Linked DNA regions of Homo sapiens: region 1 is linked to region 2. The links are contacts of gene promoters, found by promoter capture Hi-C in human tissues and cell types (Jung and others, 2019). All regions are on one chromosome and are shown on one strand. Each heading gives the region's core, a stretch centred on a gene start or on the middle of the fragment in contact. The rest is flanking DNA. Distances are from core to core; before and after follow the strand shown. Region 1 overlaps LINC01461 (long intergenic non-protein coding RNA 1461). Region 2 holds the start of MCOLN2 (mucolipin TRP cation channel 2).

Region 1 (5,472 bases), core at 2,343-4,842, 380 kb after region 2:
CAAAGCCTGCACTGGGGCATTTGTGAGAAGCGTGTGTGCAAAGCCTGAGAGACTCCCCTTTTGGGCATGCTGCTGGGCAGGGGTGTTCTGGTTTGACTTTGTACATGTAAGTGACTTATTTTAAATACATGTATTTTTTAATCACAATTTTAAAGGTAAATTAAAATGGTTAACATTTTGGTAACAGAGGGAGGAAACAAACAAGAGCCCTGTGTAAGCCTTTCATTCCCTGCGGATCAACCATTTCTAGTAAGTTCCTGTAGAGTATCTACTTCATCAGCCAGTATGATCAGCAGCAGGGAGCCATTACTCCAGGGACATTCTCAGACTTTAACATTTCACCAAGTAAAATTCCAAAACAACTTTAGGAATTGGCAATGGTATGCCAGCTTTTGGTTTGTCGAATGAAATTATTAGGAACCTGCCATTTACTGGCACTACTCTTTTTACAAAAGAAAGACATGTAGACCACAAGAAATGGACATGATCTCAGAACAAAGGCTCTTAAAAAAGAAATTCACCTTATAGAATATTTTGTCATATTTTCCTTAATTTTTCATTTTTCCAAAATGAAAATATTGTTACCAACTTGCATTTTGCCCATTTGCCTGGCTTAGTCACTACAACCCAGTGATTATAATTGAATCTTTATTTGATGGGACCTAGTCTTAACATTTTAGGGCCATGATGCTGAGTATCAGTGAACAGTATCAAGAACATTGAGGTGAGAAATGTTAGATATTTGGCTGAATTCATACTAATTCTGGGATCTTATACTAATCCTGCAACCACACTTTCTAATTTAGACAGGTATACTACCATTTACTTTAATTTTAGATGAGATTGTTTTTGTTTCCGTTGAATTTTACTGTACTTTCTAGGTATTATAATTGAAGGTCTTTTTACTTGGATTTTTGTCTGTTGAAGGCACTCTGCTAGTGACCACCCAAAGAACTGAGAATTTTGATATCATACTCTTTGGTCTAAAGTCTCTTCCAAATTATAATCATTGAATTTCAAAAAAGCAGTGCTTTGAAGGTGGGTTGTACTAGCCAACAACTTAAATGAGTTGAGGGGAAGCACAATAAGAATCAATTGAAATGAAAGGAGTACTATATACAAACAACTTTTTTTAACCTTTTCTAGAACTGAAGCAGATACTAGGACAACATTCATCTTCCCATGCTTAAAAGCAATTAAGAAGGGCATGCAGTTTGTAGGAGAGCTCTCCTGATCTGTCAATGCCTGCAACGTGTAGCTCATATCTCAACCTGCTGACATTGTCCTGCCCGCAGGCCTGGTAGAATAAACACAAGGAAGCTCCCTGGATGATGAGACAGGCAGGAGGTTTTCTGGGCACAGGCTCTACTGTATTACAGAGTAGAAATAACAACTTCAATCTTAAACATGACTTTCTTTCCAAACTTGAAATTAGTTGGTGTTAAAGTATTTCAACCAGGGAAAGAAAAACCCTTTAGCAGTTTTATCTTGTCTTGAAATGGAAAACTGATCCAGGTCCTGGATGTCTGGGGAAACAGCATGCATTTGCAGCCTCAGATTTCTTGAACTGCGCTTCTTAAAGGACCTTCCATCAGAAAGGACTCTGCAGAAGACTCACACAACATTGGTGCTTCCGTAGGCTTCATCCTTGACTCTGTTCCCTCATTCTTTTCTAGGTCAGGCCATCTCAAACTTGTGGCTGCAGCTGTCACTTAGAGTCGCACACCTCCTGAATTGGTACCTCCAGCCCTGACTTCTCTTCAGTGCTCCAGACACATGTATTTCTCTGCTCGCCAAACATCTTCCACACAACAAGCACTTTAAACTGAAAATATTCCAAATCAAACTAATCACATTCTGCTTGCTATCAGCAGCCTTCTTCACTCTCTGATTCCTTTATTTTGGTTAGTAGCAGTGTCATTTACCAAACTGCTCCAGCCAAAAACCCTGGTGTCAGCCTAAACTCCACACTCTTCTTTCACCTCCATTGTCTAATAGTCACCAAAGTCTGTCCCCTCCTACCCTAGCATATCTCACCCTTCCATTCTCTTGTTTCCATCCCATTGTCACTGCCCTATTTCAGGCTCTCATCACTTCTCACCTGGACTAGGGCAACTGCTTTCTTGTTTCCATTAAAAATTTTTATTTATAATTGATAATAAGTATACATGTCTGTGGGTACAGTGTAATGTTTCAATACATGTATATATTATGTAATGATCAAATCAGAATAGTTGTCCATCACTTCAAGCCTTTATCATTTTTTTGTGATAACTTTAAAGGTGTTTCCTAGGTATCTTGCAATGTACAAAGCAGTTATTATTGTTATTAGCTATAGTCACCCTACTATGTACAGAATACGAGAAATTAGTTTTCCTATCTAACTGTAACATCCCCTCCGGAGCCTTTGGTCACCATTGTTCTACCCTCTGCTTCTATGAGATCAGCTTTTATAGATTCCACATGTGAGTGAGATCATTTGTCTTTCTGTGCTTGGCTTATTTCACTTAACATGATGTCCTCCAGGTTCATCCTCGCTGTTGCAAATGACAGGATTTTGTCCCTATTTATGACTGAATAGTATTGCATATATATGGAGATATATATATATATATCTCACATTTTCTTTATCCATTCATGCACTGATGGATACTTAGCTTGATTTCATCTCTTGGCTATTGTGCTAAGCCCTTACTATAGTGTTGCAGTGAACATGGGAGTGCCAATATCTCTTTTGACTTATTGATTTCCATTCCTTTGGATATATATCCAGTAGTGGAATTGCTGAATCATACAGCAGTCCTATTTTTAATTTTTTGAGGAACTTCCGTATTGTTTTCCATAGTGTCTATGCTAATTTACATTCCCACCAACAGCATATGAGTTCCCCTTTCTTCACATCCTCAACAGTAATTGTTATTTTTTGTCTTTTTTTTTTTTTTTGCCATTCTAACTGGGGTGCAGTGATATCTCATTGTGGTTTTCATTTGCATTTCCCTAATGATTACTGATGTTGAGCATTTTTTCATATACATATATATATATATATATATGTATGTATGTCTTCTTTTGAGAAATGTCTACTCAGGTCTTATTCCCATTTTCGATTGGATTATATGGGCTTTTTTTTTTCTTTTGCTATTGAGTTGTTTGAATTTCTTACATATTCTGTTTCTTTTTTCTTTCTTTTTTTTTTTTGAGATGAAGTCTCACTCTTTTCACCCAGGCTGGAGTGCAGTGGTGTGATCTTGGCTCACTGCAACCTCTGTCTCCTGGGTTCAAGCAATTCTCCTACCTCAGCCTCCCAAGTAGCTGGGATTACAGGTGCCCACCACCATACCCACCTAGTTTTTGCATTTTTAGTAGAGACGGGTTTTCACCACATTGGGCAGGCTGGTCTCGATCTCCTAACCTCAGGTGATCCACCCACCTCGGCCTCCCAAAGTGCTAGAATTGAATTTCTTACATATTCTGAATATTAACCCATTACACCAGTGCATAGTTTGCAGACATTTTTTTCCAATTTTGTAGGTTGCCTCTTTGTTGATGGTTTCCTTTGCTGTGCATAAGCTTTACAGTTTAATGTAATCCCATTTGTCTATTTTTGCTTTTGTTGCCTGTGCTTTCGAGGTTTTTTCCAAAAAATTCTTGCCCAGACCAATGTCATGAAGCATTTCTCCTATGTTGTACTCTAGTAGTTTTATAGTTTTAGGTCTTCCGTTTACATCTTCATTCCATTTTGAGTTGATTTTTGTATATGGTGAGAAATAGGTGTCTAGTTTCATTCTTCTGCATGTGGATATCCAGCTTCCCCAGCACCATTTATTGAAGAAACTGTCATTTTGGGGTAACTGCTTTCTAACAGGTCTCTGGGGTTTGGTATTACTGCGCCAGAACCCTTTCATATAGCTGTCAGAGAGATGGCAGTGGAACAGCTCAGTTTATATCTCTCTGCTCTTTAAACCTATCTGATGATTCTTCATTGCCAGTAGGATAAAGTCCAAACACCTTGGCTTGTCATATCAAGTCCTTTCCCATCTGGTGCCCATCATCCCAGCTACCTCCTCTGATACTCTCTACCATGCATCCTATGATTGCCTCCCAATTTTACATTCTCTTCATCTTCCTGATTAAAATAGTGATTGCTGATTACATGTCCTCTCTTTTGCAGTTAGATGTGGCCAGGTGACAAAGTTCTGTACAGTGGAATGTAAACAGAAGTATCATGTGAGAGTTTCCAAGAACTTTTTCAGGAGGGAGGAAACACATGTCCTTTGCCCTCCCTTTTTGTTTGCTGCCTTCTCCATCCTATAGCCTGGAATACAGACATGATGGCTACCATCTTGGACTATGAACATGAGGATCACACCCAAGGGAAGGAGAGGCAGCAAGCTGGAAGGTACTATGGAGCAGAACTGCCACAGCCTGAGTACCTACCTCTGGAACTTTCTGTGAGAAATGAAATGGGCCCAACAGTTCCATAAACAGTTGTTTTGGGATAAACATAGAAATGGCCCCTAGCTTGAAATTTGCATTTGTTTTATCTGAGTTCCCTCCTCAGGAAAGGACCTTCAGGCCTCTCAAAAAAGTATCAAGAGAACTGACACCAGATGCCTCCTTGCCCCTCCCTAGTTCCTGTTTTCTTAAACATTGTTACATATCTTCCCTGCTATGTAAGCCCCTAGATTTAGTCAGTCAGGGAGATGGATTTGAGACTGAGCTCTCATAACTTGGCTGCAGCACCCGATTAAAGCCTTCTTCCTTGGCAATACTTATTGTCTCAGTGATTGGCTTTCTGTGCGTCAGTACCTAGACTGAACCCCTGGTGTTTCCATAACTTGGTCAAGCCACTGTTATTCTGAGTATCTGTCCCTTGCTGCTGTGCCTAATCCTAATTGACACAGAATTTGGTACCAGATCTGGGATGCTACAGGTCACTCCATGCTTATGTTTTTCTTTCTTTATGTTCATAAGAATTCAAGAAGCTAGCCAACCCCACTATCTTTGAATTATTCACTCTTGCCATGAAGATTTATTACCATAGCCACTTGGCCTTCCAGCGTTTTGATTTCCATGGATACTTTTTCTCCCAGGTGACTACAAGTGACAATGTATTTATTTTGAGATGGATTTTCACTCTTCTTGCCCAGGCTGGAGTGCAATGGTGCGATCTTGGCTCACTGCAACTTCTGGCTCCTGGGTTCGAGAGATTCTCCTGCCTCAGCCTCCTGAGTAGCTGGGATTACAGGCATCTGCAACCACTCCTGGCTAATTTTTGTATTTTTAGTAGAGACGGGGTTTCAGCATGTTGGCCAGGCTGGTCTCAAATTCCTGACCTCAGGTGATCCACCCTCCTCGGCCTCCCAAAGTGCTGGGATTACAGGCATGAACCACCATGCCTGGCCTACAAGTGATAATTTAAATAACTGTTCTGCCACTGCATACCACAGACTGGTAGGCCTTCCAAAGTAG
Region 2 (5,737 bases), core at 213-2,712:
TTTGCTGCTGCTACCTCGTGAAAAGGAGGGGTACGAGCTCTAGGAGGCTGTCGGCCACGTCCAAACTACCAAGCTAACATCACTAGGAGCCGAACACGGCTTTTGGTCATGTACTGACGACTCTCATCTCTAAGATTCACGAACGGCGACCGATTGTCTGTTCGATTTCCCACAGGCGTCTTCCTTTCGTGCACCAAGAGGGAAAAGCAACGGCGGCTGCAGCAGGGCGCTGGGGTTACGAGTCCAGCCCTGGGGCCGTGCGCCCTCCCTCCGCGCCCGCCGGGCCACGCTGACGCTCCCTCCCGGCTCCCTGCCTTTCATCCCGACGCGGGCGCAGGGCAACTCGCTTTTCCTATTCCTTGCGCGCCGGTCGCACTTTCTAACATCTCAGAAATATGGCCCTTGTCACAGACTTTCATGATCGTGCACTTTAGAGAAAAGCCAGAATGAATGAACTTGTCAGTTTAATGTGAAGTCCTCAAGGGAAAGGACCATGTCTTTGTCATCCCAGAGACCACAGTACCCAACGGTCGGCTTGGCTCTCAGTGAGTGTTTCCCTAAGCATCAAAACAGGAATGACCAAAGCAACGGACAAATTAATGCATGTGGAAACAAGAAATGAATGCATGAGAGAGTGAAGAAAAGAAGGGGCCAGGCGCAGCGGCTTACACCTGTAATCCTAGCACTTTGGGAGGCGGAGGCAGGAGAATCGCTTGGGTCCAGGAGTTCAAGACTGCAGTCAGCAGTGATCGCAGGTCAGGCGACAGAGTGAGACCCGGTCTCACCACCACCCCCCCGAAAAAGGCAGGAACCCCAGAGGGCCGGGAGTGCCAGGTGCGGCCGCCCGGGAGCGGTGTGGAGGGTGCGTGGGCCACTTTGCCGCAGGGCCCACCGCCCGGGTCCCTCTGTAAGGCGCTTCTCCGGCAGACACCCCGAGCCAAAGCGGGCCGTACCGCAGCGTTGGGCACTTGGGTGGAGAGTGCAAGGGCGGCGGGCCTGCGCCCAGACAGGTGTAGCCGTCCCACGCTAGGTGTCCTCCTGCCGCTCCCTGGCCGCGCCATGCCTCGAGGCATGGAGGTGCTGGACCTGCCGGTGTGCAACCGCGCCTCGGGCCTGTCCTGGGGGCCGCACCACAGGTCAGTGCCCCACGGCGCCCTTGGCGTGCCCCACGCCTCCCTGGGGGCCCCACCGCCGCCCCCTTTTGGGACTGCTTACTTCCTCGGCTCTTCTCGCGCGCGCCTCGGTTCCATCCCCTACGGCCCCCACCCCGCCTCCGCGTCGCCGACCCCCTTCTCCGGGAGCGCGGGGAGGCTGGTCCGCTGAAGCGTGGAATAAGTCCCCTAGGACCCCAACTGGGGAAGCTCCGGTCCCCGGTAGGAGGCGGCGGGGCGGGGCGGGGCGGGGCAGCCCCTTGGGGGCGGGGCGGGAGCGCCTGGCCACGCGCCGCATCCTGCAGGGTGCACACAGAGCCGCCTTTCAGCCGCCCGAGAACTGCCCGCCGCACTCCACGACTGCGGCGCCTGCTCTCGGGCCGGGGTCTGCGCGCACCACGCGGCCGGCAGAAAGGGTAAGAGAAGGGAACCCCGCTTTGCAGGGCTCCAACTTCGGCGGACGCGTTACGGCGAGGGCGAAATGAGTCGGCCGTGAACGGTGTTTCCTGTTCCGAATCCCGAGAGCCCTGGAAAGTTTTGAAGGAGGAGGCATGGCCCGGCAGCCTTATCGTTTTCCCCAGGCAAGGATTCCGGAGAGAGGATCAGGTGTTTTCAGGTTAACCGTCAGGTGAGGAGTCTGGGCTTCATCTTTCAGGATGCTGGACTGGAGAAATCTTCCTAAAGTCGATGGCTTTACTTTCGTAGACTAGAGCTTGCTTGCTGCCTTGGGAATGCTTATATTAACTGCTTGCAGTTAGTTAAATAAGGCTAGGCTGTGCCTTCCAGAACAAACAGGCCTTTCCCTCAGGTGGGAGGGTTGTAGTGTGGCTAACCCCAGTTCCTCGGCCTTTATGAAAAGGCGCACAGTTCAGCCGGTTGGCGCTGCCAGCGGGCCCCTCCTCCGTGGTCAAACCTCCAGCCACCCCAGCACAGTTGAGCCAAAGTTGTGAGTACAAACAGACCTTGGCTCCCCCGTTTCCTGCTCTCCAAACATATATATATATATATATATATATATATATATATATATGAAATATATACGTATGTGTAAGTGTGTGTGTCTCTGGTTGAACGGTACTTGTGGGAAACAAAATTGTGTGTCATTGTAAACTGAGAATGGAAGAAAAGGTTAGTAAGAGAAAGGTGGGAGAGGTTTCTTATGGGTGTCAGGATGTAGACTCTGATATTTTATGTAGAGGGAACCAACTACGTAGTTCTCCCCAGAAATGGGATGTGGGTTTCACTCTCAGGAGCTGCTCATCACCTTTGTGATGTGCTAACCAAAATCGCACAACTTTTGGGAAATTTGATAGCTTTCCCCTATTGAGTCAGAAGTTTCTTGAGACTTTAGCCTGTCTTCCTCTTCATACCTTAAGAGGAGTCAAACTCCCGTTGCCGTGAACTTTCCACAGGCACACCCTTCTCCTTTAGAAAACCGTTCATAGGTCAGTTTCTGTGGCCGGAACTCTAAAAACGACACATTTTCCATACAGAGGCCATCATAATACCAATTTTATTTAACCTCCTGTAATAAAAAATGAGTGAATCCTAATAAAGTGTTTGAGGTAGCCACATTCTTTTCTGTGAAGGAGGAACATATCAAAAGTGTTTTTTTTTAAAAAAATAGAGTAATAGATATAAAATATTTTAATGAAGCAAGTGAGAAGAACTGAGAGACATAGTTTGAGCAAAGGGGCACGAAATACAGAACTGAAAGTCAAGAATGATCATATTCACAAGCTGATCTCTTTGGCTATGTCTCTGTCAGTGAAGTGAAACCTAGAACAAGACAATTTTAAAACCGGCGGAAAAAGAGATGGCTTCTTGTGACTATAGCTTTCAAAGTAAAAGTAGTGGCCAAAGAAAACTCTTCTGGCTGTAAAAGTAAAAGTGGACTTTCCTGAAGCTGGGCTGTTTTCTTTAAGGCCTAGGGTCTAAGTTCCGTGTGTCAGTTCTGAAGAATTAAATCACTCTTTAGTGAGCTCTTGTGTCACATGTTAAGGGGTTCATAGAAAAAAGTGCAGGCATACCTTGTTTTATTGTTCTTTGCTTTATTGCACTTTGTAGATACTGCATTTAATTCAATTTTATTTTATTTTACAAATTGAAGGTTTGTGGCAACCCTGTGTCCAGCAAGTCTATTGGTGCCATTTTTCCAACAGCATGTGCTCACTTTGTGTCTCTATGTCACATTGTGGCAATTCTCTCAATATTTCAAACTTTTTCATCATTATTATTATATCTGTTATGGTGATCTGTGACCACTGATCTTTGATGTGACTACTGTAATTGTTTTGGGGTGCCATGAACTGTGCCCATATAAGACAGGGAACTCAATTAATAAATGTTGTATGTGTTCTGACTACTCCACCGACCAGCCATTCTTCTATCTCTTTTCCTCTCCCCAACCCTCTCTATTCCCTGAGACACCACAATATTGAAATTAGCCCAACTAATAACCCTACAGTGGTCTCTAAGTGTTTGAGTGCAAGGGACAATCACAGGTCTCTTACTTTAAAGGTAGGAGTGATTAAGCTTAGTGAGGAAGGTATGTTGAAAGCTGAGACAGACCAAAAGCTAGGCATTTTGTGCCATTTAGCCAAGTTTTGAATGCATATGAGATGTTCTTGAAGGAAATTATAAGTGCTACTCCAGTGAAAATACAAATGATAAGGAAGCAAAACAGCCTTATTGCTGTTATGGAGAAAGTTTTTGTGGTCTGGATAGAAGATCAAACCAGCACCAACATTCACTAAAGCTAAAGCATAATCTAGAGCAGGCCCAAACTCTCTTCAATTCTGTGAAGGCTGAGAGAGGTAATGAAGCTGCAGAAGAAAAGTTTCAAGCTAGCAGAGGTTGGTTCATGAGCTTTAAGAAAGGAAGCCATCTCTATAACATGTAAGTGCAAGGCGAAGCAGAAAGTGCTGATATAGAAGCTGCAGCAAGTTAGTTGGAAGATGTAGCTAAGATCATTGATGAAGGAGGCTACTCTAAACAACAGATTTTCAATGTAGACAAAACAGCCTTCTATTGGCAGGAGATGCCATCTAGGACTTTCCTAGTAGAGAGGACAAGCCAGCATCTGATTTCAAAGGTGCAAAGGACAGGATGACTCTCTAGTTAGGAACTAGTACAGCTGGTGACTTTTAAGTTGAAGCCAGTGCTCATTTACCATTCCAAAAATCCTAGGGCACTTAAGAATTATGTTAATCTACTCTGCCTCTGCTTTGTAAATGGAACAACAAAGCCTAGATGACAGTACACTTGTTTACAGCATGATTTACTGAATATTTTAAGCTCATGGTTGAGACCTACTGCTCAGAAAAAAAGATTTCTTTCAAAATATTACTGCTCATTGATAATACCTCTGATCATTGAAAAGTTCTGATGGAGATGTACAAGGAGATGAATGTTGTTTTCATATATGTTAACACAACATCCATTCTGCAGCCCATGGATCAAGGAGTAATTTCAACTTTCAAGACTTATTATTTGGCCGGGCGCGGTGGCTCACACCTGTAATCCCAGCACTTTGGGAGGCCGAGGCGGGTGGATCATGAGGTCAGGAGATCGAGACCATCCTGGCTAACAAGGTGAAACCCCGTCTCTACTAAAAATACAAAAAATTAGCCGGGCGTGGTGGCGGGCGCCTGTAGTCCCAGCTACTCGGGAGGCTGAGGCAGGAGAATGGCGTGAACCCGGGAGGCGGAGCTTGCAGTGAGCCGAGATTGCGCCACTGCAGTCCGCAGTCCGGCCTGGGCGACAGAGCGAGACTCCGTCTCAAAAAAAAAAAAAAAAAAAAAAGACATTATTTAAGAACTACATTTTGTAACATTATAGGTTGCCATCGAAAATTATTCCTCTGATGAATCTGGACAAAGTAAACCCTTCTGGAAAGGATTCATCATCATGGATGCCATTAAGAATATTCATGATTCATGGGAATAGGTCAAAATATTAACATTAACAGGAGTTTGGAAGAAGTTGATTTTATCCCTCATGGATGACTTTGAAGGGGTCCAGATTTCAGTAGAGGAAGTATTAGGTCAGTGAAAAAGTAATTGTGGGTTTTGTCCTTACTTTTAATGGCAAAAAAACACAATTACTTTTGCAGCGATCTGCTAACCACAGATGTGGTGGAAATACCCAGAAAACTAGAAGAGAAGCCTGAAGATGTGACAGAATTGCTGCAATCTCATGATCAAACTAGAATGGATGAGGAGTTGTTTGTTATGGATGAGCAACGAAAGTGGTTTCTTGAGATGGAATCTACTCTTGGTGAAGATGCTATGAACATTGTTGAAATGACAACACATAATTTAGCATATTCCGTAAACATAGTTGATAAAACAGCAGCAAGGTTTGAGAGGACTGACTCCAATTTTGAAAGAAGTTCTACTGTAGGTAAAATGCAATCAAACAGCGTTGCATGCAACAGAGAAATATTTTGTGACAGGAAGAGTTAATTGATATATCAGACTTCATTGTTGTCTTCTTTTAAGAAATTGCCCTAACCACCCCAGCCTTCAGCAACCACCACCCTGATCAGTCAGCAGCCATCAACAAGGAGGCAAGACCCTCCACCA

Evidence for each region. The method cuts DNA at HindIII sites, captures the fragments that hold promoters and counts their contacts. A contact is called where the count stands out against the background at its distance.
Region 1: a fragment that was not itself captured here is called in contact with the fragment with the promoter of MCOLN2 in region 2 in 1 of the 25 tissues and cell types used here (heart left ventricle).

The regions. Positions count from the first base shown.
Region 1 is chr1:84,613,367-84,618,838 of GRCh38, reverse strand. LINC01461 (long intergenic non-protein coding RNA 1461) reads left to right here. Exons shown (of 3, transcript NR_125761.1): 2 at 1-106. Among named protein-coding and RNA genes, the nearest start is that of LINC01461, 4.9 kb to the left of the region's middle. The HindIII fragment of the contact is 3,736 bases long and covers 1,725-5,460 here.
Region 2 is chr1:84,992,838-84,998,574 of GRCh38, reverse strand. MCOLN2 (mucolipin TRP cation channel 2) reads left to right here and starts at 1,462. Exons shown (of 14, transcript NM_153259.4): 1 at 1,462-1,779. The coding sequence starts at 1,703. RefSeq lists enhancers at 1-599, 2,920-2,979 and silencers at 1,170-1,459, 2,070-2,119. The HindIII fragment of the contact is 9,976 bases long and covers 1-5,737 here.